2 separate regions of the Homo sapiens genome follow, and region 2 is linked to region 1. The links are contacts of gene promoters, found by promoter capture Hi-C in human tissues and cell types (Jung and others, 2019). All regions are on one chromosome and are shown on one strand. Each heading gives the region's core, a stretch centred on a gene start or on the middle of the fragment in contact. The rest is flanking DNA. Distances are from core to core; before and after follow the strand shown. Region 1 holds the start of RHEBL1 (RHEB like 1). Region 2 overlaps SPATS2 (spermatogenesis associated serine rich 2).

The links. Contacts are between HindIII fragments. The study calls those that stand out against the background at their distance.
Region 2: a fragment that was not itself captured here is called in contact with the fragment with the promoter of RHEBL1 in region 1 in 2 of the 25 tissues and cell types used here (bladder and dorsolateral prefrontal cortex).

What each region holds. Positions count from the first base shown.
Region 1 is chr12:49,067,805-49,071,779 of GRCh38, reverse strand. It overlaps RHEBL1 (RHEB like 1), which reads left to right and starts at 1,801. Exons shown (of 8, transcript NM_144593.3): 1 at 1,801-2,046; 2 at 2,674-2,745. The coding sequence starts at 1,995. RefSeq lists enhancers at 1,358-1,407, 1,778-2,087 and a silencer at 1,638-1,757. The HindIII fragment of the contact is 9,146 bases long and covers 1-3,975 here.
Region 2 is chr12:49,515,103-49,518,997 of GRCh38, reverse strand. The region is part of intron 10 of SPATS2 (spermatogenesis associated serine rich 2); the gene reads right to left. Among named protein-coding and RNA genes, the nearest start is that of KCNH3, 22 kb to the left of the region's middle. The HindIII fragment of the contact is 7,896 bases long and covers 1-3,895 here.

The sequences.
Region 1 (3,975 bases), core at 552-3,051:
AGTATAGTCGAACTCTCTATAAATCTAGGTGATTTCCTTCCTTTCTTCCCTCCTCTACCAATCCTTCCACAAGTCATTTTAACCTTAGCTTCAGAATATCCTGAATTCTCAACTTCATTCAACATGATCACTCTAGTCAAGCGCTCTCATCTCTCACCTGGACTACAGGTAACAGTTTCCTCGCCAATCTCCCTGCTTCCTTTTGCTCCTGTTACCCTCAAACCCCAATCTATTCACTACAGCCAGGGAGATTTTTTAGAAAGACAATTTAGATCATGTCATGCCCCAGCTTAAATACCTTCAAGTACTTAGAATTAGCCCAGACTCCTTTATGTGGCCTGGCCTCTGCCATTCTCTTAGACTTCATCTGCTTTAGGCTAACTGGCTTTCTTTTTTTCTTCCCCTCTTCCTGGAATTTACCCAATTTATTTCCATCTTAACGCCTTAGCATTGGTGGATTCTTCTTGTGAAATCTCCTAGTTGGTTCCTTCAGATCTTAGTTTAAATGGGGTTTCCTATGAGAGAAAGTATCACTAAAGTGGTCATCTCAGCCAGGCTCGGTGGCTCACGTCTGTAATCCCAGCACTTTGGGAGGCCGGGTCAGGTGGATCACTTGAGGCTAGGCGTTCGAGACCAGCCTGGGCAACATAGCAAAACCCCATCTCTCCCCAAAATACAAAAATTAGCCAGTCTCATAACCCTGTCTCAAAATAAATAAAGAAAAAAAATTAAAAATGCTGTATTGTCTTTAAAAAATAAAGTGGTCGGCCGGGCGCGGTGGCTCACGCCTGTAATCCCATCACTTTGGGAGGCCGAGGCGGGCGGATCACGAGGTCAGGAGATGGAGGCCATGCTGGCTAACACGGTGAAACCCCGTCTCTACTAAAAATACAAAAAATTAGCCGGGCGCGGTGGCGGGCGCCTGTAGTCCCAGCTACTCTGGAGGCTGAGGCAGGAAAATGGCGTGAACCCGGGAGGCGGAGCTTGCAGTGAGCCGAGATAGAGCCACTGCCCTCCGGCCTGGTAGAAAGAGCGAGATTCCGTCTCAAAAAAAATAAAAATAAAAATAAAAAAATAAAAAAAATAAAGTGGTCATCTTTCATCACACCATCTTCTACAGCACTTAACACTCTCTGATATTTCCTTGTTGTATGTTTGTTTCTCCCTTCATAAGAGCAGACACATTGTCTGTGATGTCCATGTTCTGACCCCAAAGCTGGAGCAATGCCTGAAACATGTAGTATATACTCAGTATTTGTTGAAAAATGAATATTTGAGGATCATGATGATGAAGAAGAAACCTCAGACTACTTGATCATAAATTCTAGCAATTTCTGCAAGAATAAGAATTGCAGTTTGAAATTAGATGCTGGAAGACTGGAAACCTTGATAGGTCTGGGGCTGAAGGCTGGGGGAAGCAGAAGGAATATACTAGAACTTTGGCGGTTTTCTCCCTATCTAAGGACCCCAGAGACCATGCAAAAGGGAGGGCTAGAATCTTATGACCGGAAACCACAAAACGGGTATTTTCCATCCATAATTCTTCGAAGCCACTTCAGCTAGGCTGTAAATGCGCAAACGCCTTTAGGACCCCGGGTTCCTTTCTGTTTCTTTATGAATGAACCGGCTCCAGTCTGCGCACGCGCAGCTCCCAGTTCTCCCGCTCCACGTGAGGCCCACCCTTCCCTCCTGCTGGCGGCACCGCCCTTACCCATTCTAATGGACCAATGGCGAGCGGCCTGGGGGGCGGAGCCCGGCGCGGCGCGGCTCAGTAGTTCCCCGGGCGCCCGGCTCCCTGGCGTTAGACGTGCTGTGTTGTGATCACGTGGGCAGCTCCGGGCGCGGCGCTTGTTTTGGTTTCCTTCTAACTTGCCCACGGCAGCTTCGGGGTGAGCGACTTTCCTGCACCAGCTGCCGCGCCTGCTCACACCCTGACCTCGTTTTCGGGCTCTCTGAGCCCGCAGTTCCGCAAGCCCCTGGGGCGGGCTCCTGCCATGCCGCTAGTCCGCTACAGGAAGGTGGTCATCCTCGGATACCGCTGTGTAGGTGAGTCTCCGCCCTGCAGAGCTCGGACGCGCAGCAGCTTTGTAGCCAGAAGAGGCGCGCTGCCGTGGGAACGCGACCCAGGGAGGAATGATGACATCGTAAGGATGGGGTTGTAGAGCGAGGATTGGAAGAGTGGAGGAATGGAAGAGTGGAGGATTGGAAGAGTTGGTGGTGTGTGGAGGCTGCAGGAAGCGGGAGCACTTAAGGGTTAATGCGGACCTGGCTGCGGGAATCTCAGAGTGGTCCCAGCGTTACTTTGGGGATAGGGGTGGGGTCACAATTTGAAAACCGGGACGCGGTCTCCGTGGGGACAGATAGTCGCAGGTGTCCTGGGGCGGGGCGGACTTGATCCTAGGGAATCTTGGATCTTCCTACGAGTGGGATGGGGTGGGGAAGGCGGCGGGAAAGGCTTCCTGCTGCGCTTCTGAATGCATCCGGTAGCCAAAGTGCGGAGACCCTGGGTGAAAAGAGGGTGAGGGTAGACACAAAGGATAGCATTGCTTGAGGCACTCACAGACTGTGGTGTTAATTTGGGGTCTCCTTTGGTCCTGGGCCACAGTCCGAAAGGACAGAGGATGTGAATGTGGATGGATGATTTGGATACAACTGTCACACTGCTCCCCACAGGGAAGACATCTTTGGCACATCAATTTGTGGAAGGCGAGTTCTCGGAAGGCTACGATCCTACAGTGGAGAATAGTGAGTAGACTTCTCCCCTAGTGTGCTGGTGGTATGCGACCCGGAGGGCTTGGATACCCCACCCAACTCCATAATTTATTTCTCTGGTGCCAAGGGGCTGATTTATTTAGACATTACATCTGATTTCTTCTTTAGCAATCCTGTTCGATGGATGGCTAGAGTATGGATTTTGCAAGATATTGAGTCTGGGATAGTTTAGATGTAGACATTAAGAACCTTAGCGTGTCTTTCCAGTTACCTGGATAACTCCCTGGAGCTGATCTATCTGTGTCACCCCCAAGGTTAAGAATGTAAGGGGAGGCTGGGCGCAGTGGCTCATGCCTGTAATCCCAGCACTTTGGGAAGCTGAGGCGGGCGGATGGATTGAGGTCTGGATTTCGAGACCAACCTGGCCAACATGGTGAAACCTCATCTCTACTAAAAATACCAAAATTAGCTGGGCATGGTGGCGCACGCCTGTAATCCCAGCTACAAAGGAGACTGAGGTAGGAGAATCGCTTGAACCCAGGAGGCAAAAGTGGCAGTGAGCCAAGGTCGTGCCACTGCACACCAGCCTGGGTGTCAGGGTGAGACTGTCTCAAAAAAAAAAAAAAAAAAAAAAAAAAGCTGGGCACCGTGGCTTATGCCTGTAATCCCAGTTCTTTGGGAGGCCAAGGCAGGTGGATCACCTGAGGTCAAGAGTTCGAGACCAGCCTGGCCAACATGGTGAAACCCCGTCTCTACTAAAAATACAAAAAATTAGCCGGACATGGTGATGGACATCTGTAATCCCATCTACTCGGGAGGCTGAGGCAGGAGAATTGCTTGAACCTGGGAGGCGGAGGTTGCAGTGAGCCGAGATCGTGCCACTGCGCTCTAGCCTGGGCAACAAGAGTGAAGCAATGTCTCAAGAAAAAAAAGAAAAAAAAAAAAGAATAAAAAGAATGTAAGGGGGAAGGGAGTGGGAGGGATGAAGATAAATTGATCAATGGGTACAAATATATAGTTTGATAGAAGAAATAAGACTTAGTAGATCAGTAGGGTGACTATAGCTTACAATAAGCTATTTTACATTTCAAAATAGCTAGAAGAGAAGAATTCAAATGGTTCTAGCATAAAGAAAAGCCAAATATTTAAGGTGATGAATATTCCAGATACACTTATTTGATCTTTACAAATTATATGAATGTATTAAATTGTCACATGTACCCTGAAACTTGGTACATCTATTATTCATCAATAAAACAAAAG
Region 2 (3,895 bases), core at 680-3,179, 450 kb before region 1:
CAGTAGGTATTTGGTCAGCCAAAGGCTTAGCTGCCTATCCACCCAGAAAATGAAAATATCAAAAGTCTGGTCTCTACCTTCCATTGGGTCTCTGAAGGCAGTTAAGTGGTAAATATTTTTTATAAATCACAAACACTCATAAATCATTGTTATTTCTCCTTCCAGTCAAAAAAATTTTATCAAGATGCATATAAATTAAAAAGGAAATATGTACACATAATAAAAAATATTCATCTAGAGTAAGTTGGGTATAAAATGAAAAGAGCATCTCTCTTATTTCTGATTTTGTGGTCTCCTCTCCAGGGGAAACGACTGTTCACCATTTCTTACGTACACATCCAAATATTGTGTATGTACATACAACATGCATACATATGTAGCTCTCTTTTTTCCCTTCTCACAAATGGAAGTATATCATACACATGGTCTTTCTTTTACCTTAGCTATTTTTACTTAATATATCTTTAAATTTATTCCCTATTAATACATCTGGATCACCTTCATTCTGTTTAACAGCCACCCAGTATGTGGATATACCACAATTATTTACCGAGTTCCCTAGTGATGGGTATTTAGATTGTTACACCCTTTTAAGAACCACCTTCTCTGGCATGCTTTCTGATATATAACTTGGATATGGTCATGGCAGAGAACATACAATAAAAATCTCCCAGAGAGACAGGGGCTACAGTGGAAACAAAACCAAAGAAATCCTCCCAGGAAGCAGATAAACCACCCAACGAATGTTCTCTACTACCAGGGAAGGGACTCTGCTATTCCTTCCCATCCAGCAAGATTTGATCATTGCTTTTCCAAGTGGGAATTTTTACTATAATTATCCTTTTCTTTCTCCAACTATGTAATATGGGAGAAGGGGGCATTTAGCCTTTCTTTTAATTTATGAGACCCCATCCTTGGAAGATCTGAAATCACTCTGAAGACCTGGCCTTTCAGCTGAATATTAACTAACTAGATGAGACTTTGGAGGTATTGCTATTGAGGAGGTGGTGAACATATTCTCATTTTGGAAAAAAGAGGGATACTGGGTAGTGGAGGACTGTAGCAAAGACCATTAGCTGATGGAACACAGTCTTTCCAACTACATTCAGGAACATTCAGGGCTATCAGAAATCCAATGTTGTTGGGTACCAACATAATTGGGTAAAAAAAAAATCTATATTTTCTGGCTTTGCTACAGATGAAACGGCCATGTGATATAGTTTCCCCATTGAGATATAAGCAGAACTCAAAGGGCAGGCTTTACAGGAAAGCGTTTTAAGGGAGTCTTAGCATGTAACGTTTTACTCCTTCTCGACTGGAGCCTAGGGAGTTGTCTTTTGACCATAAGCATACTCTCAGAATGGCTGGGCAGAAGAACAGAAGATCCTGGGTCCCTAATGTCATCTGGGAAATGTCCTGCCAGCCCTGGGTTGCTTACCTCTGTACTTTTCATTTTCTGAGAAAAAAGGACACTCACATTTATTTAGGCCACTCTGTTCCATGTAGTCAAACTCAATCCCTAACTGATATACATAGAATCCTGTAACACACTGAGGAATTAGCCAAATTCACGTCAGAAAAAAACAGAAGTTTTAAAGAGTTACACCAGGTATTACAGAGAGCTGGATGTATTTAGCAAGTTTACTCAGCCCAACTGCCACAGAGATGCACACATGGGCTGCCTAGACCCAAGTCACACTAATCAATCAGGGCCCACTTTCTCAGGAGTCAGGAGCATGCCTACAAAAGTTTCTTAACGCCAAAGCCCAACAGTTACAAATGATCTATTGGTTTAGGTCCCAAGATAAAACCTATTTGCCATTTGTATCAACTTCAGTTTCTCTCAGCTCTAGCATTCAGTGATTCTATGACAAAATTATAGCTCTCAAAATGGCAAAAATGAGGTGAATAAAAAGCTTTCTACACGTAACAGATAACTCATAGGACCTAATTATACAACACTGGAAAAGATTGAAATACTACAAACCTATCAGTTACTTAATAAAATTATAATATGTAAAAAACAAAAAGCAACTCTTGATAGCACTGGTAAATGAGTAATTACTCTTGATAGCATTGGTAAATGAGTAATATCATTGAGAACCAGGATTTTCAGGGAGAAAAGAGCTAAAGATATAAAACTGATGAAGTTAAGTAAAACTTTGAGCTCTGAATTTGATAAAATAAGATTGGCCACAAATTGATAATTGGTTGAAGCTGAGTGATGGGAATTTGTTACATTAGCCTCGCTATCTGAAATTTTCTTTTCTTTTCTTTTTTTTTTTTTAGTTTTGAGATGGAGTCTTGCTCTGTCGCTAGGCTGGAGTGCAGTGGCGCAATCTCGGCTCACTGCAACCTCTGCCCCCTGGGTTCAAGTGATTCTCCTGCCTCAGCCTCCCGAGTAGCTGGGACTACAGGCGCATGCCACCATGCCCAGCTAATTTTTGTATTTTTAGTAGAGACAGGGTTTCACCATGTTGGCCAGGATGGTCTTGATCTCTTGACCTCGTGATCAGCCCGCCTCGGCCTCCCAGAGTGCTGGGATTACAGGCGTGACCCACTGCACCCGGCCAAAATTTTCTATTAATATAAAAGATGTATTAATATTCTTAAAAGCACCTTCTTTTTTTTTAATTTCAAGACAGGGTCTTGCTCTATCGCCCAGGCTGGAGTACAGTGGTGCAATCACAGCTCACTGCAGCCTCGACCTCCTGGGCTCAAGTGATCCTTCCACCTCAGCCTCTCAACTAACTAGGACTACATGTAGCACATGACCCCATGCCTGATTTATATATATATATATATATATATATATATATATATATATATATTTTTTTTTTTTTTTTTTTTTTTTTTTTTGAGATGGAGTCTTGCTCTGTTGCCAGGCTGGAGTGCAGTGGCGCAATCTCGGCTCACTGCAACCTCTGCCCCCTGGGTTCAAGTGATTCTCCTGCCTCAGCCTCCCGAGTAGCTGGGACTACAGGCGTGTGCCACCATGCCCAGCTAATTTTTGTATTTTTAGTAGAGACGGGGTTTTATCATGTTGGCCAGGATGGCCTCGATCTCCTGACCTCGTGATCTGCCCGCCTCAGCCTCCCAAAGTGCTGGAATTACAGGCATGAGCCACTGCGCCCAGCCTTATTTCTTATTTTTTGTAGAGACGAGGTTTCACTATGTTGCCTAGGCTGGTCTCAAACTCCTGGGCTCAGGTGATCCGCCCAAAGTGCTGGGATTATATGCGTGAGCCACCACGCCTGGCCTAAAAGGACCTTCTTCTCAAAACTAAGAAATATGTCTTCTTAGTGGTTTTAGTTTATCTGCATTTCCATTTTCAAAAAGAGAATATACAGATAAAATAATGGACTGAAATGTCAAATTTAGAAACTCAAAATATATTGCTCAATGTAATGAAATCTCACCTCTGAAAAACAGTGGAAGGCATCTCTGCTACATTCTCAAATTTTCAAGTTAAAATGGACCAAAGCTGAAGTCATTTCAGTGCTTCAAAGCTGCATCCTCTGGCCCGTGACCACACACACAAGTGATTTAACTGTGAGTCATGATCTCGACCTAGCCCAGCATTTCTATTCTTACCAGTTTGGGGGTGGGTTAAAATAAACAACTTTCCTAATAATTAATCTGGCGTTCAATGCAGGAAGATAAAACCTGCCACCGAAATGCCTCAAATCAATGCCATTGTACAAGTTGCAGTTGGTATTCCCTTGTCTTCGTGTAGCTGTGTATGTTTAACCTAACACTTAACAGAAATGATCAAAAAATAGGTATCTGTTTTTTCTGTACAAAACCCCACAAATCACCAAAGTTAGACTTCATTCCTCCAGAATCTATTTTAGTAAGCTTTCAAGAAACCTGGTATCTTGAACCCTCAATTCTC